Regions from separate parts of the Homo sapiens genome. Here all the other regions are linked to region 1. The links are contacts of gene promoters, found by promoter capture Hi-C in blood cells and fetal thymus (Javierre and others, 2016). All regions are on one chromosome and are shown on one strand. The core of a region is centred on a gene start or on the middle of the fragment in contact, and the rest is flanking DNA. Distances in the headings are between cores, read along the strand shown. Region 1 holds the start of ABRAXAS2 (abraxas 2, BRISC complex subunit). Region 2 overlaps LHPP (phospholysine phosphohistidine inorganic pyrophosphate phosphatase). Region 3 overlaps ZRANB1 (zinc finger RANBP2-type containing 1). Region 4 overlaps LHPP (phospholysine phosphohistidine inorganic pyrophosphate phosphatase). Region 5 overlaps FAM53B (family with sequence similarity 53 member B). Region 6 overlaps LHPP (phospholysine phosphohistidine inorganic pyrophosphate phosphatase).

The links. The method cuts DNA at HindIII sites, captures the fragments that hold promoters and counts their contacts. A CHiCAGO score of 5 or more calls a contact.
Region 2: a fragment that was not itself captured here is called in contact with the fragment with the promoter of ABRAXAS2 in region 1 in 9 of 17 cell types (naive CD4 T cells, non-activated CD4 T cells, total CD4 T cells and 6 more); the score reaches 7.7 in naive CD4 T cells.
Region 3: a fragment that was not itself captured here is called in contact with the fragment with the promoter of ABRAXAS2 in region 1 in 1 of 17 cell types (erythroblasts); the score reaches 5.2 in erythroblasts.
Region 4: a fragment that was not itself captured here is called in contact with the fragment with the promoter of ABRAXAS2 in region 1 in 13 of 17 cell types (non-activated CD4 T cells, naive CD8 T cells, naive CD4 T cells and 10 more); the score reaches 12.7 in non-activated CD4 T cells.
Region 5: a fragment that was not itself captured here is called in contact with the fragment with the promoter of ABRAXAS2 in region 1 in 4 of 17 cell types (naive CD4 T cells, non-activated CD4 T cells, activated CD4 T cells and 1 more); the score reaches 7.0 in naive CD4 T cells.
Region 6: a fragment that was not itself captured here is called in contact with the fragment with the promoter of ABRAXAS2 in region 1 in 4 of 17 cell types (naive CD8 T cells, fetal thymus, non-activated CD4 T cells and 1 more); the score reaches 6.9 in naive CD8 T cells.

Annotation. Positions count from the first base shown.
Region 1 is chr10:124,800,518-124,804,596 of GRCh38, reverse strand. It overlaps ABRAXAS2 (abraxas 2, BRISC complex subunit), which reads right to left and starts at 2,778. Exons shown (of 9, transcript NM_032182.4): 1 at 2,696-2,778. The coding sequence starts at 2,767. RefSeq lists a silencer at 2,503-2,582 and enhancers at 2,071-2,624, 2,683-2,952, 2,625-3,179. The HindIII fragment of the contact is 5,454 bases long and covers 1-3,334 here.
Region 2 is chr10:124,569,578-124,573,776 of GRCh38, reverse strand. All of the region lies in intron 6 of LHPP (phospholysine phosphohistidine inorganic pyrophosphate phosphatase), which reads right to left. Among named protein-coding and RNA genes, the nearest start is that of LHPP, 110 kb to the right of the region's middle. The HindIII fragment of the contact is 4,091 bases long and covers 629-4,199 here.
Region 3 is chr10:124,972,634-124,976,594 of GRCh38, reverse strand. ZRANB1 (zinc finger RANBP2-type containing 1) reads right to left here. Exons shown (of 9, transcript NM_017580.3): 4 at 2,879-2,950; 5 at 2,197-2,395. Among named protein-coding and RNA genes, the nearest start is that of ZRANB1, 32 kb to the right of the region's middle. The HindIII fragment of the contact is 1,536 bases long and covers 1,944-3,479 here.
Region 4 is chr10:124,551,615-124,555,653 of GRCh38, reverse strand. The region is part of intron 6 of LHPP (phospholysine phosphohistidine inorganic pyrophosphate phosphatase); the gene reads right to left. Among named protein-coding and RNA genes, the nearest start is that of LHPP, 92 kb to the right of the region's middle. The HindIII fragment of the contact is 9,226 bases long and covers 1-4,039 here.
Region 5 is chr10:124,616,966-124,621,174 of GRCh38, reverse strand. FAM53B (family with sequence similarity 53 member B) reads left to right here. Exons shown (of 5, transcript NM_014661.4): 5 at 1-1,883. Among named protein-coding and RNA genes, the nearest start is that of FAM53B-AS1, 85 kb to the left of the region's middle. RefSeq lists an enhancer at 837-966. The HindIII fragment of the contact is 641 bases long and covers 1,225-1,865 here.
Region 6 is chr10:124,586,805-124,590,796 of GRCh38, reverse strand. The region is part of intron 6 of LHPP (phospholysine phosphohistidine inorganic pyrophosphate phosphatase); the gene reads right to left. Among named protein-coding and RNA genes, the nearest start is that of FAM53B-AS1, 120 kb to the left of the region's middle. The HindIII fragment of the contact is 2,543 bases long and covers 1,464-3,992 here.

The DNA.
Region 1 (4,079 bases), core at 1,529-4,028:
AATCTTTCAGTTATGAATTCTCACCATAAAAGCAGTTTTGTCTTGTCACAAGCAAAAGACAAACAAAACAAATACCCACTTTCAAAAAATCAAAGTGAAAAAATAATTTCATATTCACACAGAACTTTAGACTTAAGAACATAGCTAGATTCCTAGTATTCTACAGCACTGGGTTGCTGGATTTAGCAAAAGATACAAGACACACAATAAAATTTTAATTTCAGATAACAAATAATTATTTTGTAAGTTTTGGGATATACTTATACTATAAATAAATTGCTATTTATCTAAAATTCAAATTAACTGAGTGTGCTGTATTTCATCTGGTAACCCTACAACAGTCTTCCATTTGTGGAATAATGATATAACTCAACAGTGACATCAAGAAATTCTAGGTCAGATGCGGTGGGTCACGCCTGTAATCTCAACACTTTAAGAGGCCAAAAACGGAAGATCGCTTAAGGCCAGGAGTTTGAGATCAGCCTGGGCCACATAGCAAGACCTTGTCTGTAATTTTTTTTTTAAAAGGACATTCTAAAGCCAAGTACAAGTGGAATGTTTATACATCTACTGGTCTGGATTATCTGAGCCAATGTTCCTTTATAGTAGGAGTTGGCAAACTATGGCATGGGGACTAATTCCAGCCTAATGCTTATTAATGTACGGCCTGTAAGCTAAAAATGGTTTCTATGTTATTTTATTATTATTATTTTTGTAGCCCAGGCTGGAGTGCAATGGCGCGATCTCGACTCACCACAACCTTTGCCTCCCGGGTTCAAGCGATTTTCCTGCCTCAGCCTCCCTAGTAGCTGGGATTACAGGCATGTGCCACCACGCCTGGCTAATTTTATATTTTCAGTAGAGACGGGGTTTCTCCTTGTTGGTCAGGCTGGTCTTGAACTCCTGACCTCAGGTGATCTGCCCGCCTCAGCCTCCCAAAGTGCTGGGATTACAGGCATGAGCTACCGTGTCCAGCTAATAAGAGTCACTTGAATCTTTTATTGTCTATAGATGCTTTCTCCCAATAATAGCAGAGTTGAATAGTTGCTATAGAGACCATATGGCTTACAAAGCCTACAAAGTTTACTATCTGGCCCTGTACAGAAAAGTATGGTAGCCCCAGGTCTACAAATGAGTGGTTTTAAATTAATTTCTTGACTGGACAAAATAAGTATGTACTACAAAAGTAAATTGTTGGTTCTTCAACCTTAAAATTGAAATTATTTTCAAGGATTCCACATCTATAATTGTGGCAAAGTTAATATAAACAGGCATGGTCATATAAAACACAGTTGCAAACTATTGGCATTGGTGAAAATTTCTATGAAGTCAAGCACCACGCCTTGCAGAGTAGATATTAAGGGATATCTCTTGAATTAATTTTTTTCAACAGGTAGCTGCTTGTTCTTACAGTAATCTTGCCATATACATAAACTGTGATATTAGTAGGCATTCAAGAAATAAAGGACCCATTTTTAATAGTCCATGGACACTAGGGGTATCACAAACCCTTACATATGGAACTATATTACATTATTAAATAGCTGGTTGTAGTACCCTAGGCCATAGTCTTCAAAGCTGCTTCTGGAAAAACCCATGATGTATATATTCCTATTCCTATCATTAAGTTCTACCATCAACACTGAAGAGATGAAAGGTACAATAATTTAATTGCATTCAATTTACTAATGGAATCACCTCCCTGTGAAATCAGTTTTTATTAATGGAAGCTAAGATTGCTGACATCAAACCAAATGCAGTTCCTCCTTCTGCAGTGTACCATTTTGCTTTGTAATGACAACCAAAAACCCCACACATAGGTTTAATGAGTTTGAATCATTCACTATTAACATCACTTAAAATAATCCCCCAATTTGGTGGCCAAATTATATACCTCCTTTAAGAGAGAAGTGATCTAGTTTCACAAAGCATTTCCAATCAGAGGCCAATGACGTTAAAAGACAATTTGTAAAATAAAGACACTGAAACAGACAGGATCTGCTCCTCCTGTGGGCTCACAGCCTATGCATTTCCCATCACTCAGTAGTGGGCCTGTCACTTCCCTATTTCACTGTGACTAGTGAAAGAACTAGTCACAAAGAACTAAACACGCAACTTCAAGGAAATACAAAATAGACCCTGCACCGAACGCTCCTGTATACATTCTCCATTTTGCATCAGGGCGAAGAAAACACACAACCGTGTCTAACAAGTATCAGTAGTGACAGCCACGGTTTCACTCGCAGCACCCCCACGACAACCTGCGAGACCGGCGGGCGGGGCTGAGTACCTCGCCTACTGGACTAAACGCCCGGCCTTTAGATTCCTTCCCGACCCCGTGCGCCCCTCTTAAGTCTAGAAGCCTGACTTTCAGGGAGGGGCAGGCGCTCGGTTTCCACCGAGCGACTCCTGACACTGCAGGAGGCCAGGTGGGACAGTTTTGCTGCACGGGAGACGGCTGTGCCGGGACGGCCGAGCGGCTGAGAGCGCGAAGCCAGGGGGCCTGTCCCAGGGGCGAAGGAGCCCCCAGAGGCAAGAGCTCACCGGGGGCGGGAGCCGCCCGGGTCACCAGCTCCTCCGGCCGGCCCTGGTGCCCAGGGGGCGAGCCGCATGAGGTCCCGGCTTGGCCGCGAGCGCCGGCCTGAGACAGAGGCTGAAAGCCCCCAGCGGGCGCGGCAGGGGGCCCGGCACCTACGTGGTCCGCGTTGCTGTTGGCGCTGTGGAAACACACAGCACTGAAGGTGTAGCCCGAAATGGACGCCGCCATGATGGAAATCTCCAGCTACCCCATCATGCCCCGCGGAGGGCACACGGCCTTCCGGACGGCCCGACCCCTTGGCATCATGGGAAGTGGAGTCTGCGGCGGGCAGCGGCCGAGGGCCCTGAGCGCTCACAGTCTTGAAGGCTGAGGAACGCCGGTTTTTGCGATCGGAAGGACCCCGGCACCGTATCCTCCGCAGGGGTGTCGCTCCCGACACGCCTCAGACAGCGGTTGATAGTTCCGCAAACAGTTCTTTCCCTTTGCAAGTGAAACCTTAGTATTAAAAGACAACATTCTAGCCGGGCGCAGTGGCTCACGCCTGTAATCCCAGCACTTTGGGAGGCCGAGGCGGGCGGATCACCTGAGGTCAGGAGTTCGAGACCAGCCTGACCAACATGGAGAAACCCTGTCTATATTGAAAATACAAAAACTAGCCGGGCGTGGTGGCACATGCCTGTAATCTCAGCTACTCGGGAGGCTGAGGGAGGGGAATGGCTTGAACCCGGGAGGCGGAGGTTGCGGTGAGTCGAGATCGTGCCATTGCACTCCAGCCTGGGCAGCAAGAGCGAAGCTTCGTCTCAAAAAAAAAAAAAAAAAAAAAAAAAAAAGGCCAACATTTAGGCTGAGCGTGGTGGCTCGCGCCTGTAATCCCAGCACTTTGGGAGGCCGAGGTGGGCGGATCACGAGGTCAGGAGTTTGAGACCATCCTGGCTTACACGGTGAAACCCCGTCTCTACTAAAAATACAAAAAATTAGCCGGACGTGGTGGCGGGCTCCTGTAGTCCCAGCTACTCAGGAGGCTGAGGCAGGAGAATGGCGTGAACCTGGAAGGCGGAGCTTGCAGTGAGCCGAGATCGCGCCACTGCACTCCAGCCTGGGTGACAGACCAAGACTCCGTCTCAAAAACAAAACAAAACAAAAAGCCAACATTTGAGGCCGGGCGCGGTGGCTCATGCCTGTAATCCCAGCACTTTGGGAGGGGGGGGCGTGTGTGGGGAGTGTTAACCTGAGGTCAGGAGTGTTATGCGCGTTTGTGTGAAGAGACCACCAAACAGGCTTTGTGTGAGCAACAAGGCTGTTTATTTCAACTGGGTGCAGGCGGGCTGAGTCCGAAAAGAGAGTCAGCAAGGGAGATAGGGGTGGGGCCGATTTATAGGATTTGGGTAGGTAGTGGAAAATTACAGTCAAAGGGGGTTGTTCTCTGGTGGGAAGGGGCGGGGGTTACAAGGTGCTCAGTCGGGGAGCTTCTAAGCCAGGAGAAGGAATTTCACAAGGTAATGTCATCAGTTAAGGCAGGAACCGGTCATTTTCACTTCTT
Region 2 (4,199 bases), core at 1,425-3,924, 230 kb after region 1:
CCTGGGCACACTGTTCAGTGATGGGGGACAGTGGGGCCCTGTCCCCTATGGGATGATGATGTGGCAGCAAGGATCAGGCACGGCAATCCCACTTCAGGGACTGTACCTTAAACAAATAGTCACACAAGTATACAGAAGCATATGTTTGTAGTAAAATCCAAATAAAGACTGGATATAGTGGTTCATGCCTGTAATCCCAGCACTTTGGGAGGCCAAGGCAGGAGGATCCTTTGAGGTCAGGAGTTCAAGACCAGCCTGGGCAACACAGTGAGACCCTGTCTCTACAAAAAATAAAAAATTAGCTGGGTGTGGGGGCGTGCACCTGTACTCCCACCTACTTGGGAGGCTGAGGCGGGAGGATCACTTGAGGTGGAGACTATAGTGAGCTATGATCTGTGCCACTGCACTCCAGCCTGAATGACAGAGTAAGACCCCATCTCAAAAAGAAAAAAATCCAAATAAAGTCTGGTGTCTCATGAATAGTGTGGGTACCAATGTCAGTTTCTTGGTTGTAACAAATGTACCACAGATGTGTGAGGTGTTCACAGAGGAAACTGGATGAAGAGTGGATGAAAACATCCTAACTCCATAACTTTTCTGTACATATGAAATTATTCCAAAATAAGCTTATTTTTAAAACACAAACACGTTTATAAAAGAATGTTCACTGTGACACTGCTTAAGTAGCAAAAAACTAGAAGCAACATTATTTACCAGTCTGGGAATTGTGAGACACACAATGGCACAACTGCGTTACCCACACCACGCAGTTGAACGCGAGGCAACTCCATGCACACTGATACATGCCCTGAGTGCGTGGGTGTCGCCATTGAGGAACCAGGATTGGTGGAGCTGATATTCTGCTATGATCCCAGCAACGTACAGAGTATGTGTTTCTACACACGACAGGGACCACAGGACTGAGCTGGATGGGAGCAGCAGCGATGACCTCTGCCAAGTGCAGTGATGAAATGACGCCCATGGTCAAACCTCTGGATTTCTTTATTATGTGAACAGAGCCCTCCCCACCTCCCCTCTTCCTCCCTCCCTCCCTTCCTCCTTTCTCCCTCCCTCCCTTCCTTCCTCCCTCCCTTCCTTCTTTTTTTTCTTTTCTTTCCTTTCCTTTCTTACTTTCTTTCTTTTTTTGAGATGGAGTCTCGCTCTGTCGCCCAGGCTGGAGTGCAATGGCGTGATCTCGGTTTACTGCAACCTCCACCTCCTGGGTTCAAGCGATTCTCCTGCCTCAGCCTCCCGAGCAGCTGGGATTACAGGCACCCACCACCACGCCCAGCTAATGTTTGTATCTTTAGTATTGACAGGGTTTCAGCATATTGGCCAGGCTGGTCTCGAATTCCTGACCTCAAGTGGTCCACCCACCTCGGCCTCCCAAAGTGCTGGGATTACAGGCGTGAGCCACCGCACCTGGTCTCCTGAACAGAGTATTTTCTTTGCAGCATGTACACTTCTCGGTGCCAGTGACCGCCACCACTCCGTCGGTTACTGCAAAAGCCTCCTGAGCAGTCCCCCTGCTCTGCCCTCATCCCACTGTGACCTTCTCTCAAACAGCGGCCAGAGGGACCTTTTGAAACCTGAAGGCAGGTCATTGCTCTCTTCTGTGCAAGGCCCGTGATGGCCAGCCTGGCAGAAGAGAAGCAAAGCCTTCGGCAGGCCTGCCAGCCCTGGCCTCTCCCTGCCAATGCTTCCCCTACCCCTCCAGCCACCTGAGTGTCTTCCTCCAACACCCAAGGGGCTCTGCAGTGGCTGTTTCCTCACCTGGAATGTTCCTTCCCCAGAACTCGCATTAATCTCCCTTCCCCAACCCCTCACTCACCCCCCTAGGTCTTGGTTCAAATCTCATGGTTCAATGAGACCCACCTGAACCCACCTGTTTAATGACAGCCCTTCTCATCCTCTTACAGACAACCCAACTTCCTCATCCATCGCCATGTTGTCTATCTTCCTCTGCTAGCATGTGAGGCCACAGCAAAGGCCTGTGTCTCTGACTGATGATGCTTCCTGAGGACCAGCGTGGTGCTGGCAGGGTGGCCAGCCAGGGAACACGGTTAGGGAGCAAAAGACTCAGCAAAAAAACACAAAAAGTCTGTAGTATAAGAGGTCCATGATCTCATAAATGAACTGGACTGCATTACCAGAGTCACATTACTTAACCTTTCCATCTGAAACACGGGGGGCTCTGCCCTTTGCTGGTCCTCCTCCCAGGCACAGGGTCCACAGCTTTTAGGCAGTGCATCCTGGACACCTTGTGCAGGGCCATTCAGCCAAGCCCCTAAAGGTTCCCATTCAGCATGTTGTTTGGTAGGTAAATTTCCTGAACGGAAGTGAATAAATTTACTTTCTTCCTTACATATTCCTATCCAGTCTTTAAAAATGGCCGCTCGTTACTCAAAAAGTTAAACATGAATTACCACATGAGCCAGGAATTCCACAACTAGGTATATATCCAAGACAACTGGAAACGTGTCCACACAAAAACCTATACATTAGTGTTCACAGCACCACTATTCCCAATAGCCAAAAAGTGGAAGTGTATCAGTCCGTTTTCACACTGCTGATAAAGACATACCAGAGAGACTGGGCAGTTTACAAAAGAAAGAGGTTTAATGCACTTACAGTTCCACGTGACTGGGGAGGCCTCACCGTCACGGCAGAAGGTGAAAGGCATGTCTCACATGGCGGCAGACAAGAGAAGAGAGCGTGTGCAGGGCAACTCCGCTTTTTAAAACCATCTGATCTTGTGAGACTAATTCACTATCACCAGAACAGAACAACATGGGAAAGACCTGCCCCCGTGATTCAATTACCTCCCACAACACATGGGAATTCGAGACGAGATTTGGGTTGGGATGCAGCCAAACCATATCAGGAAGCAATCCAAATGTCCATCAGCTGATAACAGATCAACAAAATGTGGCCTATCCACATAGTGGAATATTACTCAGCCACAAAAAGAAGTGAAACTCTGATACACACCGTAACACAGATGAACGGTCAAGACATTAAGCAAAGTGAATGGAGTCAGACACAAAAGACCATGTATCGTCTGATTCCATTTACATGAAATGCCCAGAGCGGGCGAATCCACAGAGATTGAAAGAGGCTGGAGGCTGCTAGGGGCTGGGGGTGTGGGGAGTGGGAAGTCACTGCTAATGGGTACAGGGTTTCTCTTTGGAGTGACAGAATATTCTGGAATTAGAGGTGATAGTTGCACAGCATTGTGAATATATTAAAAACCTAAAGACCACTGAATTGTGTATTTTAAGAGGAATTGTATGGCATGTGAATATCTCAATTACAAAATTAAAAACCTGGCTGCTCATAGGGTCACACCTCTGATTTGGGGACAACCTCAGCTCACCGACTGTCCCCTTCATTCCAAAGGCCCCTGGGCCAGCCCAGTGCCCGACTCACATAGGCACTGGGTGAATTCTGGCTGCACTGAGCTAAACCAGAGGGACCCAAATTAAGAAGCTGTGCACAGGGCAGAGGGAGACAGTGAGTCCACTGGTGGCAGTGAGGGCCCAGAGGAGGGCTGTGACGGTCACTGTGGGTGCCATGGGGACAGAGAGGGGCTTTTCCTCCAGTCCCTCCTAAGAGTAATCCTGGAAGCTACCAAGGAGATTGAAGCCAGGGAGGGACTGGCCAGATCTGCCTGTTACCAATACATTTTAAACCTAAATTAATAGTCACAGTTTTTCCCAGTAGAAGGCCCTCCTCACCTGCTGTGGGCAAAAGAGGAAGTGGCCGGGTGAGCTCTACACTGCAAGTCAGGGCAGGGGTGACCTGGGGTCGGGGGGTCTGACTGGGAAGGGGCACGGGGAAACTTCTGGGTGCTGGAATGTTCTACATCTTGATCTGTGTGGGGGTTACACGGGTGTACGTGTGTGCAAAAATTCAAACTGTACACTTGATGTCCTTTCCTGGGTGTTATACCTCGATCAACATGTAGAAGAGAGAACAGAGACACCTTGCTTGTGACTGGTGACACTCATCAACCCCATCTCGGCTCCGCTGCCTTACAGGTCTGTTTCCCTTCACAGCCTTCATGGCATCTGTGATGGTGGAGGTGGCAGGTGACCATCTCTGTGGACACACATGTCCCTGAGATCCCCCAGCCCTGGTTCAGGGCCACAGAGTGCAGTAAGCCACTCGGCAAATCCTGGCCGAGTGAATGAGCTGCA
Region 3 (3,961 bases), core at 1,462-3,961, 170 kb before region 1:
GCCTCAAAAAAAAAAAAAAAAAAAAAAAAGGAAATTACCACCAAAGAAAAGATTACTGGCTGCCTTTTTAGAGAGAACCTGCAAAGTGGTAGATTTACCACAGTTCAAACCTGGCTTTCCATCTTACAGGGCAGAGTGACATTAACCAAAACTACAAGGCAGACCTGTGAAACCACAATGCCAAGAACCCACTGTCTTAGGAACCAAACCAGGTTCATCCTCTTGACATAGACAGGCCCATAGCAGTGGTCAAGAAAATCAGCAGTAGGAAGCTAAGAAAATCAGCAACAGGAAGCTGCTTGGTGACCACAGGATCTGATCAAGAGGGCCAGACCGGCAGAGCACTGACCAGCATCAGGCTTACCCAGCCCGATGAACCTACTTCATACTACCAGACAGCCATCTCCACTAAGAGGCACAAAAGAGCCCTCTCTCCAGGACAATTACTAATTGACTAAAACTACCGGAGTGACACATTCATTCTTTAGCTTTATTATACATCCAGTCAGGTCATCCAGGAAGTTATTTTATTTCTCTAATGTGCCCACAAATTGTTACTCTATTACGTTATGCTTCCCCCTCCGCTCCCCACAAGACAGTCTCACTCTGTCACCCAGGCTGGAGTGCTGTGGCACGATCTTGGCTCGCTGCAACCTCCTCTTCCTCCTGGATTTAAGCAATTCTCGTGCCTCAGCTTCCTGAATAGCTGGGATTATAGGCATGCACCACCACACCTGGCTAATTTTTGTATTTTTAGTAGAGACAGGGTTTCAACAAGTTGGCCAGGCTGGTCTTGAACTCCTGGCCTCAAATGATCTGCCTGCCTCAGCCTCCCAAAGCAATAGGATTGCAGGCATGAGCCACAAACCCCAGCCATACTGCATTATGCTTTGATCTACAATTTAGCTCTCAAGAAAGTAATTTATAGGCCGGGCACGGTGGCTCATGCCTGTAATAACTAAATGAGATAATGTTCAAAGAACCAAAAAAATACCACATAAGTCAAACAAATGTAAAGACTGAACTATTCATTCACAAAAACAATTATTTTTCCAGTGATTGCATGCTGTTAAAAAATATATATATAAAGAACACTTTGATACAATTGAAGAAATGTGATTATGAACTGTTAGATAACAGAATCAATGTTGAATTACTTAGATGTAGGAATGGGGATGTGGGTGAGTAGGACAATATTCTTATTCTGGAAAGATGTATGTTGATATTTTGAAGGGTAAAGCATCATGATGTCTACAACGAATTGACCCACGAGTCTTTCTGTATGGAGACATGGAGCAGGTGTGGCAAAATGTTAATAACTGCTCAACTGAATGAAGAAAATACCAGGATCTATTGCACTGAATTTTTTTAAAATTATTCCATGGGTTTGAAAATTTGCAAAATAAAAAATGTGATCTTAAGACTCCCTCAGGAAGGAAAAAAACTTGTAACACAATGTCAAGATAACCTCTTATGTGAACACAAATATTCAATAAGGCTGGGTGCGGCAGCTCAGGCCTGTCATCCAAGCACTTTGGGGGCCCCAGGCAGGCGGATCGCTTGAGATCAGGATTATCAAAGCCACCCTGGGAAAGATGGCAAAACTCCATCTCTACCAAAAATACATAAAACAGCCAGGCATGGTGATGAGCACCTGTAGTTCTAGCTACTCAGGAGGCTGAGGTGGATGGATGGCTTGAGCCCAGGAGGTGGAGGATGCAGTGGGCCAAGACTGCACCACTGCACTCCAGCACAGCAATTGAGCCAGACCCTGCTTCCATCGATGGATCAATCAATCAATCAGTCAATCAATCCCTAAAAAGATGAGCAACGGCCTTATCAATATTTAAGGCTACTATATATAACTTGAAATGCTGCATTTGAAATGTTCAAATATACTGCCTGTGTCTTATAGAAACAATAAATGCTTGCATTTTAAAGCTTCAAATGTTTCTATTTTAAAATTTAGCAAAAAAATGTATAAAAACCATTGATTCTTGCTTTTATCTCATTTCTTGGGGGAAAAACAAAAACAGAAACCATGGACGTGTTCAAAGTATTTTAATGTCCAAAATGAACTGTTTTTCCTCCAGTTTCCATAGAAAATATAACTGACATAAAAAGTATCCCACCACTACAAGGAAATAATCCAGCAAATGCACTCCTGGGTTGAAACAGGGCAGAATGCCAGCTCACCAATGTGAACAGTCATGCAGGCTGTCATGCAGGGCTTTCCGAAGCACTGAGTCCTTGTCATAGATGCCCCAGGTAGCTTGTAGAACTGAATCAAGTAGGCAGTCTCCTGCAGTCCGGTTCCAAAGTGCATACAGTCGACTGTCCAAACGTGTAGCCAATTCCAAGGACCAGTTAATAATTGGAGATTCTTCTTCTAATTCTGTACGATGGATTTAAATACATGTTCATTTCCATACCTATGTCATTAGAGAATACTCATGGGGAGAAGAACCTATTTTCTAGCTATAAAATGGTTTATATGTAATTTACCAATAAACACCTAAATAAAATTGACCAATTGAAATATAAACTTTTGAGTACTTGAAACATCTTCTGTCTCTAGAATAATTTAATAAACTTTTAAATTCTTTACAGTTTTATTTTCTAAAAAGTGTTTCATATAGAAATATATACATTCTGGAACAGGAAGCGGAGAACCAAGGTTTTAAAATTTTTGTATCTTTATTTGTTCACTCTGTAACAGTGAACCATACAATATAACACTGAACTTCAGGACTTTACGTCTTTAATTTAAAATAAAAATAAAGCAAGTTGACTACACACCAAACTACACCATGCCTTACTAAACAAAACTTACTTGATCAGATGAAAGGTAAATTATACTCATTAATTCCATGCTTACCTTTTTGAACGTCTCTATCAAGCACCTCATCAAATAATTTTTCTTGGACTGTTGGGGGCAAATCTTCAATATCTACAAAGAAAATGCAAACTTAAAAGATCTTTTGTTTCATAACTTACACTTAACTTATACTTAATTACACTTATTAATTACCTACTAGTAACTTTCTCTAAAATAACTCCCTTTCCATTGAAGGTTATCAGATAGCTTTTTCTTAATATACCAGTGTAACATGTGTGATATAAAATATTTCTTTTCTGGGCCGGGTGCAATGGCTCACGCCTATAATTCCAGCACTTTGGGAGGCTGAGGCCAGCATACTGCTTGAACTCAGGATTCTGAGCCCAGCCTGGGCAACACGGCAAAACCCTGTCTCTATACAAAAAATATACAAAAATTAATCAGACAAGGCAGCAGACACCTGTGTCCCAGCTACTCAGGAGGCTACGGTGAGAGAACTGTTTGAGCCTGGGGAGGCCAAGGCTGCAATGAGCCGTGATCCTGCCACCGCACTCCAGCCTAGGCGATAGAGTAAGACCCTGTCTCAAAAAATAAAAATAAAAAATAAATTTTTAAAAATCTAATCATTCTGGGGTAAGCTTAAATACTCAGAACAAGTGCATTTCAAATGAAACTTCCTCCAGTTTCAGAAAACTTAGTTACTATCTCCTACAATTTGTAAAAATCCGTTTGTCTGAACATAAAAATTAAAAACACTGAGATCTAGCCTGAGTAATACTGCGAGACTCCATCTCTACAAAAAAATTAAAAATTAGCCAGGGGTGGGTGGCATGTGCCTATAGTCCTAGCTACTCAGGAGGTCAAGGCAGGAGATCACTTGAGCCCAGAAGTTGAAGGCGCAGTAAGCTATGATCACGCCCATTGCACTCTAGCCTGGGCAACAGAGCAAGACCCCGTTTCAATCTAAAAAAAAAAAAAACAGCAACAAAACAAACAGATCTCAGAATCTCAGATGAAAGATTTTAGAAACGTTTGGTGTTTGGTGTATTTATTCAATGCCAACTGACAAAACGCATTCTGGAGGATGTTTTCAACTGTCAATGAATTGAAAAATGAAAAGTT
Region 4 (4,039 bases), core at 254-2,753, 250 kb after region 1:
CACCAGGCAGCGCAGGACTGTGGGCCTAGAAAGGAGGGACTCCAATAAGGCCAGCCCTACAGGTGCCCTCTGCAGAGCAAGGTCCCCCATGCTGACCTCACAGCTGGGGGACCCTTCCCAGGCTGTGGGAGGGTCCAGGGAGATCAGACGGGGACACAGGTTGGGTGGGTAGCACAGGGTGTACTGCAAAGCGCTGACACACCAGGACCCAGCCGGGCTTTGGACAAGTGGGGAGGGCCAGGCCCTGTAAGGCAGGGACCCTCCCTTCCTCCCTTCCTCCAGGGAGGAGCTGTGCCTTGTAGAGCCCCCATCTCACTCTAGGGTCTCCCAGACTACAGTGCTCACTCGCCCTGGCAAGGGTGCCTCCTGCAGGCCTGTGGCTGTGGTCCAGCCAGGAGTTCGCCCACCCTGCCTGTTCTCCACTACTGGGCTGAGGGAAACATTGACACACTCACCCCTCACCCATCCCCACTGGCCCACCCAGGAAGAGAGCAAAGGGGTCAGGGCCTCCACTCGGGAGGCAGAGAGCACAGTGGTGTTGAGAATGGCTGGCTTCAAATCCTGGCCCAGCTGCCCTCTCGCTGGACGTACTCAAACCAGTGATTCAGCCTCTCTGAGCCTCAGTTTCCTCACCCTAAAGTGAGACTAAAATGCCAGCCGCATAAAGCTGCTGTTGGCAATCAGTGAATTATGTCTGTGCAGTGTTTAGCCCAGAGGCTAAGAGCACACAGCAGGTGCTCAATAAATGACAGCCGCAATTATGAACAATCTCCTGTCCACATTTGCCTCATTCCTTCGTTAAAGAACCTAATTCTGTCTAGAAATATCTGCCAGAGTTGCAAAGTCTTTGGAAAGGCCCTAAGGCCCAGAGATGGAAAAAGTGTACAGAAATGATGATGGGGCAAAAGTGAGCCCTGGGACCCGCCAAGCTAACAGCCCACCCAGGAGTAAGCGAGGTGCAGACAGCCCACCTGGCCCCGCCCACCTGGCCCCTCCCACCTGGGCCCACCCCTTCAGCTCGTCTAGGGCTGTCAATGATAGAGATGACAAGGACAGCAGCAGCAGCATTAATGAAGCAGTGGCTCTGCACCGGGCACTAGGCTAAGCACTGCATGCACATTATTAAACTGCCATATCCCATTATAGAAACTGAGTCCAGGCCGGGTGTAGTGGCTCATGCCTGTAATCCCAGTATTTTGGAAGGCCAAGGCAGGAGGATCACTTGAGCCCAGTTCAAGACCAGCCTGGGCCACACAGGGAGACCCTGTCTCTGCAAGAATTTTAAAAACTAGCCGGTGTGGTGGTGCATGCCAGTAGTCCCACCTCAGGCATGCATCCTACCCAGGAGGCGGAGGTGGGAGGATCACTTGAGTCCAGAAGGTCAAGGCTGCAGTGAGCCATGATTGCACCACTGCACTCCAGCCTAGGTGACAGAGCAAGACCCTGTCAATAAATAAATAAAATGAATAAATGAATAAATACATAATAAACTGAGTCTTAGGTTGAAAAACCTCTACCTGGCCCAGGTCGTCCCAGCTGTAAATGTCAGAGCAGGAGCTGAATCCAGGCAGCCCAGGCTGACCACCGCCCCGCAACTACAGGCTCGAGGCCTTCTTCTATCTGCAGTGGAGTCTCTCGAAGAAGACTCACATGGAGCTGTCCACAGGAGCGCCCAGTTCCCAGAGCATGGTGCCGCAAGGACAACAGGGGGGCTCTGTCCCTCCTGGAGCAGGAAAAGAACAGATGCCAACAGCTTAGCCTGTGGTAAGACAGATGTGGTGGGCCCCTTACCTCCTTCTGCAGACAGAGGAGGGGCCTGGCCCGGGGGAGGTCTCTGTGCAGCTCCCAAGGTGACAATATCACCGGGAGTCATACAACATTCAAGAATGGCTGTAGGCCGGGCGTGGTGGCTCACGCCTGTAATCCCGGCACTTTGGGAGGCCGAGGCGGGCGGATCACAAGGTCAGGAGATCGAGACCATCCTGGCTAACACGGTGAAACCCTGTCTCTACTAAAAAATACAAAAAATTAGCCAGGCGTGGTGGCGGGCACCTGTAGTCCCAGCTACTCGGGAGGCTGAGGCAGGAGAATGGCGTGAACCCGGGAGGCGGAGCTTGCAGTGAGCTGAGATTGTGCCACGGCACTCCAGCCTGGGCGACAGAGCGAGACTCCGTCTCAAAAAAAAAAAAAAAAAAAAAAAAAAAGAATGGCTGTAATCCTGGCCCTATGGTGCCGCTGTTGGGATTTTCCTGGGGTTTCAGGGCAGTCCGAGCTCAGGTGCATCCTGGCTGCAGGTGCAGGGGGTGGGCAGGAGGAAAGCCCCATATGCTCCCCACATGAGAACCCCACTTGGGTTCTGTCCCAGCTCAGCATATGGATTTCTTGTTCTCTTTCTCCAAGTTCCCCTTTGTCAGGCTGAGTCTATTGAGCCAGAAAATCAGCCGTGTTCTGGGGATGGCCAAGTCACAGGGACCTGGCTTCCCATGGTGCTGCCACTCATCAGCTGGGTCCCTGATCAGAGTCCCTGGGTGCTAAAAGCAGGCACTGACTGCCCTCCCAACATCGAGGTCCCCAGAAGGCCCCCTTGTGCAGAATAAAGACACGCTAGGAGGCCGCGGAGCGCTGAGCGGCGCTCATTATCAGCTCGGAAGGCCAGCTTAAAGGATATTCCAGTAATTGCAAGGTTTTTGGTAAATGTTAATTACGGTTGCCTTAATTAGCTCCAAACCCATTGATCTATGGATTATATTAGGTTTATAAGTGTAATTACCTTAACAGCATATGGATTACAATTACGCTCCAATTAAACCCCAAACGTATAGCATATAAATTAGTAAAGGGATCGTCCTGATTGTCCAGGATAGGCTATTGAAATGTTGCCACTTTCAGGGCCTCATGCTGGGGCTGGTCCTTTGCAGGCGGGGACCTTGGGGAATTTGGAGGTAGGGGGTTCAAATGGTCTCTGGCAGCCACGCGTCCAGTCCATCTAGACCCGATTTAGAAATGACTACAGGGGCGGGGGCTGGCAGGCCCCAGCCTGGGGGGCAGTGGCTGGAGGATTAAGAGCTGTGCCTGCTCAGCTCGTCTTCTCTCAAAGAAATCAGGACACCCAACAGCCCATTAATGATGCCCCTCACTGCTCTCCCTCCAGGTAGAGATGGCTTTCTTGCCTTGTCTGGGGGAGGGGCAGGTGCTTCTTTAGACAGCTCCATGTGGATCTGCTGTGGGGGATTCCAGTATAGACAGGAGGCCTAGAGCCTGTATGTGAGAGAGGGGTGGGTGGTGGCAGGGTGGTGATCAGCCTGGGTTGCCTGGATTCAGGGCCTGCTCTGCCACTTACAGCTGGGATGACCTTGGTCAAGTAGTTTTTCAACCTAAGACTCCGTTTCCGTAATGGGGATCCGGTAATTTAAGAATGTACATAAAGTGCTTAGCAGAGTGCCTGGTGCACCATGGCTGCTGCTGCCATTAACATCATGAACTCACTTCCAGGGTGGGGAAAGGCTGGAGGGCAAGAGCGCAGGAGGGCAGGGGCAGCCTGGAGTGCCAGGCCCTGCCATTCTCCCAGCCCCTCTTCTGACAAGCAGGAATGGGGCACTGGGAAGTCCCACGAAGCCTGGAAGACAGACAGGTGACAGGTGGAGAAGGGGAGGGGATGGACGTGCCTGTGCTCAGTGGGGAGGCTGTGATGGGCCTGAGGGTCTCAGGGCCCTGGGCCTCAGCACGGTCCCTGGTGGAAAAGCACTGTAGGAAGCTGCCACCCGGGGGCCTGCGGACATCCTGCGTGCGCCTCCGTGGTGAGGTCAGGCTGGAGCGAGGTCAGAGGTGGCAGCCCTGCTCCCCAGGGAGCCTTGCCTGGTGCTCCCCAAGGCCGGCAGGTGGAGGGGAGGGTGCCCTGCATGAACTGCCCTCCCAGCTGTGGGTCTTCTTCCCGGGGGGCCGGCCAAGCCCGCGGGTCTCAGGGGCTGCAGCTCTTCTGCTCACCCTGGCTGAGGCCTCTCCCCATCCCAGGGACCCTGGCCCCTCCGCATGGTGGGGT
Region 5 (4,209 bases), core at 296-2,795, 180 kb after region 1:
CCTTCCTGTGGAAGGCAGAGGCAGTGAGGGAGGTGGACGGTGCCAGCTGAGGCTGAGGCATGCAGCAGCCCCCAGCTACCTTTGCTTAGGGCTGGGGTGGGAGGCACATGGTGACAGGTATATGTCGTGGGACTGGGGTGTGGGTGACCTGCCCTCAAACCTTGCCTGCCACCTCCCCATTCAGGCCTGGTGGCAGGAAGGGACAAGCTGTGGAGCTGGCTGAGTCACAGCCACCTCCCCACCTCCCCGCAAGCTGGTCCCATCGACCAGCAAGCCCAGCCCCAGGGCGCTTAGGGAGAAATGACCCAGCCTCCTCAGACCCCGCCTGCCTGTCCTGTGCCCACCACGCAGCAGTCAGGGGAGAAAATGGTGGCTATCCCTTCTGCTTAGAGAAAGAAATGGCCTTTAGCTGGTTTCATGTTTGTGTTTTGACTGGAGGGAGTAGACCCTATCTATAAGGTGCCACCCCATCATCCAAGCTGCCACACTGCCCGGAGCAGCCTGTTCCTGCACTCCACCCTGCTGGCCCCAGGACTTCTGATCTCAGTCCTCTGGGAGGGAGGTTCGCCTAGGAGGTGCCCCCCACATTGGTGTCCCCATGGGCAGCAGGCAGACAGCTCACCCCCACCAGCATGATGGCCCCAGCTGGGGGCAGTGGCAGGAGCCTTACTTTTGTCACAGCCTTGCCCACAAACCCTGCCTCTGAGGGGAGACTGAGGAAGGGCAGAGCCAGAAGCAAGCCGTGCCAGGCCATCTGCCTGCTCATGGGGTCCTAAAGCGCGGGCTAAGCCTGCAGGAAAGCCGGGGCGGTGGGGGGGGCTTAGTGCCACATGCACCCCACTCATTCCAAAGCCACCAAACTGCCAGGGGCTGCCGTCCACCCGTGGGGCCCAGGGGCTGGGGCCACAGCCTTGCCATTTTCGTTGCCATACCCTCTTGCCTTACTCGCGGTGGAGGCCGGATTTGCACGGGCAGACGTGCACCTGGGCCCGTGGGGAGCTTGTTCTGACCAGACGTACAGATTTTCATTCTCAGAAAGCCTTACTTTTCAACCAAATTTTTGTAGCCAGTTTTGTGAATTTGTACACTGAAAGAAAATTTAAATAAAGGGGAAGTCCACATTAAAAAGAAAACAAAACAAACCCTAACTAACTTCCAAATGGGTCTCCTGGTGCGGGGGCGTGAGTGGCCGTGCCCTGGGTGTGCTGCCTGTCTGAGCAAGCTTCCCTAGCTGTGGAACCCCGGGCCCCCTGCTGCGGGCTCTGCCTTGGTGTCATGCCTGCTGCACCCCCGTTTCCACTGACGTGCCGTCTGTGGCTATGGGGGTGGTCACTGGAATGACGGTCACTCCAGACGTCAGCCGGCAGGGATGCAGCAGGCTGGCCGCGCACCGGGGCTCGGGCACCCTCTGGCCCCACACTGGCAATGATGCCACACCTTGCCATGTCCACGCTGTTGGTCAAACCCCTCTGTCATGCCTCTTTAAAGAGAAAAGAAGAGAAAGATTTTTTTTTTTTTTAATGGCAGACCGAAGTGGAGATCTTGTAGCCTAGATAGGATAGTCTGACCTTCTAGCATAGTCTTTTTGGCAAATGATTTGTGTTTTCAGTGTGTGGGGAAGCTGTCCTGGGGGCTGGGGCGACAGATAGCACATAGGCTGTTTCTGGGGCTGCAGGGGCTTCCCTGAGCTGGATGTTGTGGGTGTTGCCGTGCTTCAGGAAGTGTGGCGACCAGAAAGCGTAGACCCGGGGCCCAGGGTCTGCCCGCCCCTGCAGCCTGGCCTCCCCGCACAGGCTGTGGCTTGCACTCCAGCCGCTCTAGTCTCTCAGGAATTTGCTTGTTACTTGTACTGTGTAAATAAAGCTTCCTGGTTCAATACCCAAGTGCCTGGTGCCAGCTGTGTGGTTTCTGTTGGGTGTGGTGAACTGGCAGGTCCCCCCTGCTCACAGGAGCATTAGCTCTGGGCGCAGAGAGACCTAGACTGGACCCTTCTGTCCCCTCCAAGCCTCGGGGTCTGAATCGATAAAATGGGGCTAGCAGACATCACAGAGCTGTGGAGACGCCGGGGGACGGGGGAAGGCTGCCCATGGCCACAGCTGCATCATGGGGAGCCCTTCTAGGGCCAGGAGCCCCAGGACAGCAGTGGGGAGACACTCCTTGTGTCACTTGAGTTAGAAGCCATGGAGGAGTCTGCCCTTCCGAGCACAGCAGCTCAGCCTTCGACAGCGCTGGGAGGTGAGGCCACACAGCAGCGTGCGGAGATGGGCCCAGCCTGGCCTGCAGCCCTGAGGGGCCTGGGATGGCCCCCACCACCCACCCACCAGGGTAGCTGAGGTGGCACAGACAGGCTCACTGGCTCCGGGTTTCTGCCCCCGCTGCAGGCAGCACAGTGCAGACTTCTGCTGCGTGAGTGAGTTGCGGGGGCCCCAGAAGCACGAAGCCCAGCCCGGCGTGGCCCACTGTCTCCCGTGCATGGCCCTCTGCTTACCCGGACTCAGGAGAAGGGCGTGTTTGCGGCCTGGAGGACAGGCGTGGAGAGGTTTGCTTGATTTCCATAACTCAACACTTGCCCACACAATCTGCCCATGGAAGTCTGGCCTAGAATGCTTGTTAGGGCCAGAGCAGCCCCTCTGGGAATGAGGCTCTGTAGCCCCCGCTTTTCTTTTGGTTTTTGCTTTTAGCAAGATTTTTTTTTTTTAAGTCTATGAGCACTGAACTCAAGAAACAAACATGTGAAGTGGGGCTGCTGGGGGGAGGTGAGCCCCTTGTCCTCACTGCCATCCCTGCAGCCCTGCCTTACCCAAGGCCTAGGGACTCACTGATTCGAGGCTGGATGCATTGACTTCCCCAGCACACCCTCCCCTCACCCCTGCCTCCGTATCTGACAGATGACTGGTGGGCCAGGGGCTGGCGGGGGGCTTCTACCCAGCGCAGTGCCCCCACCCTTGTGCCCCACCTGAGGGTAGGGCACAGAGTGGCCCTGGAATTACCTCTGGCCCTTACCAGCCCCTTGCTGCCCCCAATCCCTAGATGAGGTCCCTGGCTGGATGGATAGCTCCGTTCTGCCCCCACGTGGGGCCTGGCCCCAGGCCTCACCCCCAGTGCAGTGCCCAGGCCAGGCACAGGTGCTTCTGACATGGGGCACACGTGTAGTCTCCTTACCTGCACAGCGATCATAACCCTGTGGGCTTACGAGAGAGACTCAGCCACTCTGTCCAGTGTGCAGGGAAAGGGCTGGAAGGAAGAAGGCCGAAAGGAAAGGCCCCAGAGAGCACAGTGCTCAGACTCCCGGGTGACTTCTGGTTTCTTTTTATATACTTCTGTTAAATTTCCTGTAATAACACATGCTGCTTTTATAATGTTAAAAAAACCACGTAGAATGTAGGCTGCCCCGTGTGTTCACCTCCTAAACCAGGACAGTTCTGAGGGGCAGCTGGAACTGTTGACACGCACTCTGGCACGGGAGGCGGACCCAAGAGCACCCACCCCAGAGGGGCACCACACTCGCCCGTCCCGCCCTGTGTCCCCACCTCTGCCCTGAGGTGAACACAGGAGGCTTTCCACCTGCCAGCTGCCAGCCAACCTCCCCGAGAGGGGCAGGAACCGACCAGCAGGACAGACCCACCCAGGACAGCGGCACCAGGTCAGGCCTCAGCCTTTCCGATCCTCTGGAGGGCTCAAGCCGAACGGAAGGAGGGAAGAACTGCAGTCACCTGGGCCGGTGGCGCTCACATCTGACGTGGAGGCCTCTGCTTCACTTGGCCCAGTTCCCAGCCTTGTCGGCAGTGAGGACATGGACCCTCGCTGGCATCCGTCCTCCGTCTGGCACAACGTGCCGTGTTCTCTCTGGTTAGGGTTTGGGTGGGACGGAGACTGCGCCCCTGTTCCTGGTCCGCCTAAGTCTCTGCCAGTCTGAGTCTCGTGGGCCTTTTCTGCAGGCCCTGGGGTTGCGGAGCAGGCAGGGGGACGTCGGTGGCTGGGGGACATCCCGCCACCTGCCAAGTAGCTGCAATGGGAAGAGATGCGGTTCCCGTGACAGCCAGGCCTGGATGTTCAAGTCATGTGAGACCACCAAATACCTTGTTGCACTAAGCCAATTTGAATTGAGTTTTCATAAGTGGTACATTGAGCCCAGGGCTTGGTACTGTGTGGGCCCTAGAGCTGGAAGGTGCAAGGGTGGGTGAGGCCCGAGAGGCCTGCTCTCCCTGT
Region 6 (3,992 bases), core at 1,486-3,985, 210 kb after region 1:
GTTTTGTGGACAGAGAAGCAGGCTCAGGAAGGCGACATGGCTTCCCTCGGTGGCAGAGGAGGCAGGCAGGTGGCAGCGCTGGGGCTGGTGCCCACCGTGTCTCCTCTGGCAAGGGCTCAGCTGAGCCTTGTTGGTGCCACTGTGGGACAGGTACACTGTGCGGGTGGGGAGAGTCCTGGGCAGACAGGACCAACACAGTCCCCTTCACCTGGAGCTCCTGGGCTAGAAGTAACAAGTCCAGTCATGACACAAGGGACAGGTGCTGGGTGGGGGCTTGGCAGGAGAGCCAAGTCCCCTAATGGGGTCACACAGCGGCTTTCTCGGGGTAGCCTGGAGTTGCTCACCATCGCCCACGCCTGCGTCGGAACTCAACTCAGAATTCTGGGTCAGAAGTCTTCTTGGCTCAGAGGATGAGAGGCGCCTTCAGAGCCCAAGAAAGGTTGCCCTCGTGCGGAGGGTTCCAGCACTTCCCCGCAGTCGAGGGTGGGAGCCACTCCTGAGCAGCCTGGCAGTGGGGGTGCTTTCCTTTGCAGACCTCAACCAAAGCCAGTGCCTGCTCCGCACCCCACCCCCAATAATGCTCACACACCATGTTCTCCCACTTCAATTTCATGTGGCTGTGGAAGGAGAGAGAGAGACAGGGATTGGGAGAGGGAGGACGTCACATGAACGAATCGAATGAGCTGTTCACACTATTCTTTGGAAAGAACGATGGATAAAAAACCTGCAAAGCCAGTCAATCACGCATTTATTTTTCTAAGGGCGGGGGGCGGTGGAGTGGTGGGATGGAGAGAACTTTCCTGAAAGGATTTGGCCTTGAAACATGAAGTCAAACAACTGGATTTGGCAGGCTGACAGCTCCCGAGCCCCGCCAGCCCGAAGAACTGCCAGCCTGGCGGCCAGGGCGCGCTGAGACATAATGAACTCATTCAGAGCCGAGCGGGGCTGGAGGACGGGGCTGCACGCAGGGGGCCTTCCAACCAGAGGGGCTGCGGCACCAGGGACCCTGCAGGCCTGAACGAGAGCCGACCTCACCCCCAGAGATGCGGGAAAGGCGGGTCCGTCCGGGGATAGACAAGAAAGGGTCTTGCTCGAGTCTCTAACACACAAGGAAGTCCCAGAGAACAGGAGTGAAGGAGGCCGATCTCAGATGGGTGATGAAAGCTGGGGCCGGGTGAGCTCTGCACACTGGGACCTGTGCACTGAGCCTGACCCCTGCTCTCGTGTCAACAGTCCTGCTCCTCCCGGCTCATTCTGCTGAGCCCCATGGCCACCTCCAGGACCTTCTCCTGGGTGGAATCCTGCCGTGGGTCTGCGAGATTGTGAACTACATCTAAGCAACTCCATGGCTGAGCCCATGCCAGCTTTTTAAAGCCAAGTTTTCATTTTCACAGAGAGGCCTTTGCCTTCCAGGTGGCTCAGAAGCCTGAATGATAACAGGGCTCCATCCAGCAGTGGAAGCTTTTGTGGTTGGAACAGATAAGGAATTAGGACCTGCGGTGCACACTGCAAGTGAGACAGAGGTCCCATGTATCAGGCTGCGAGCACGGCCACCGCCAAGGAGGTGCTATAAGCTCTGAGATGCCTTATGCAGGAAAAGGCTCCTGACATTTCTGCACGGACTGTCCCCAAGGCTGCCTGTAAACCTTGCAGCAGCAGGAACAGGTTCTGCTTGAGTCCCGGCAGAAGCATTGGTCCTTGAAGGTGACAGGCCTCCTTTCTCTGGGATGGTTCAAGGGAGGGGCACCATGAGATCATCTCGGAGCCCTCACAGCCGCGCTGCTGGGGAAAGCCTTGATTTATGGGCGCTCCACCAGGGCTATAAATAACCGCGCTGCACCGGCTGTGGCTGGTCAAGAAACTGACGTCTGGTTTTCCCTAACCTTTGCCCTTCCTTCCTCATTCCCAGGGCACTGTGCAACATGTGTGGAGGGTGGGCCAGTGCCCTCTCCAGGACCCCCTGGACCTGACTGTCAGAGGAGGGAGGGGACAAGGGAGGCCTTGGGGTAGGGCATGTCTCCCTTGGAAGGCAGTGTTGGGGGAGCAGTGTCCTCTGCAAGCTGCTGTCACCTCAGATTCTGAGGAGCCAGGATCCATCAATATGGATATTTTTTGCAGACATTTGTAAAAACCTCAGATTCTGAGGAGCCAGGATCCATCAATATGGATATTTTTTGCAGACATCTGTAAAAACTTGTATTGATTTCAAAATGAAAAAGCTGGGCCGGGCACTGTGGCTCACGCCTGTAATCCCAGCACTTTGGGCGGGCGGATCACTTGGGGTCAGGAGTTCAAGACTAGTCTGGTCAACATGGCGAAATTCCATCTCTACTAAAAATACAAAAATTAGCCGGGCATGGTGGCAGATGCCTGTAATCTCAGCTACTCAGGAGGCTGAGGCAGGAGAATCACTTGAACTGGAGAATGCAGTGAGCCAAGATTGTGCCACTGCACTCCAGCCTGGGCAACAGAGCAAGACTCAGTCTTAAAAAAAAAAAGAAGAGAAAAAAGTAAAAGCATAAGTGGCTGCTCCAGAAAGCAGTGCTTCTGGCCAGCTGGACCCAGGGCACCTTGGAGGGCAGCAGAGGTGGCAAGGCTGAGGGACGCGTGTTGTGCCTGTGGCCACCTCTGGGCCTGACACATGAAGCCCCCGGGCCTCAGCAAGTGTCTGTTCAGTGGGTCACGTTTTCTCAAACTTCTGCTCTCTGTACAGAACACCTGTGAATGTGGCCTGCCTGGAGAGGGGCAGTGGCAGTGGGGCTGTCCGTCAAAGCTGGTGGCCAGTGGAGGTGGGCAATGCCAGGGTGAGGCTGTGTTTATCACGGCCTTCAGCCCCAGCTCCACCGGGTGGGTCTGGGGTCCCCATCCTTACAGAGGCCGGCAGCCCTGTCCCCCAACCTGCATTCAGCACTCGGCCAGGGCCTCCACGTCCTCATCTGTGGGAGGCACGGGAGCTCCACTGCCACCCCTGAGACAGCCCAGCAAGCATTTCTTAGCCTTTTTCTTTTAAACTCAGGGTGGGTTTTTTTGGTTTTTTTTTTTTTTTTTTTTTTTTTTTAGATGGAGTCTGGCTGTGTCTCCCAGGCTGGAGTGCAGTGGCATGATCTTGGCTCACTGCAATCTCCACCTCCTAGGTTCCAGCGATTCTCCTGCCTCAGCCTCCCGAGTGGCTGGGATTACAGGAGTGTGCCACCATGCCTGGCTAATTTTTGTGTTTTTAGTAGAGACGGGGTTTCCCCGTGTTAGTCAGGCTGGCTCAAACTCTCGACCTCAGGTGATCCGCCCGTCTCGGCCTCCCAAAGTGCTGGGATTACAGACGTGAGCCACTGCGCCTGCCTCAGGGTGGATTTGGGCCACATTTGAAAATAAACAAGCAAAGACCATGAAGGTAGAAGTGGAGGGGACATGGCTTCCCCAGAGGAAATCAGCCATGGTAGGAATATTTACACCACAGAAAGTGGAGGCCGGGCGCGGTGGCTTATGCTTGCAATCCCAGCACTTTGGGAGGCTGAGGCGGGCGGATCACTTGAGGCCAGGAGTTCGAGACCAGCCTGGCCAACATGGCCAAACCCCATCTCTACTGAAAATACAAAAATAATTAGCCGGGTGTGGTGGCAGGTGCCTGTAATCCCAGCTACTCGGGAGGCTGAGGCAGGAGAATCGCTGGAACCCGGGAGACGGAGGTTTTACAATGAGTGAAGATTGTGCCGTTGCACTCTAGCCTGGGTGACGAGAGCAAAACACTGTCTCAAAAAAAAAAAAAAAAAAAAAAGTAGCAAGCACTACAAATTAGGGCTTCCCCCACACCAGCCAGAAGGGGTTGTTTGTTACCTTTAAAATCCCCCAAGTTCATCTCAGTTAAAAAAAAATCCATGAGATGATTTCTATGCACACATATATAAATAATTCTGTGTTCACAGGTCCATGGCAAGGCAATTTTCAAGACAATGACAATAAAACCTAATTACTCTTAATCCAGGGAAGGTCTGTTT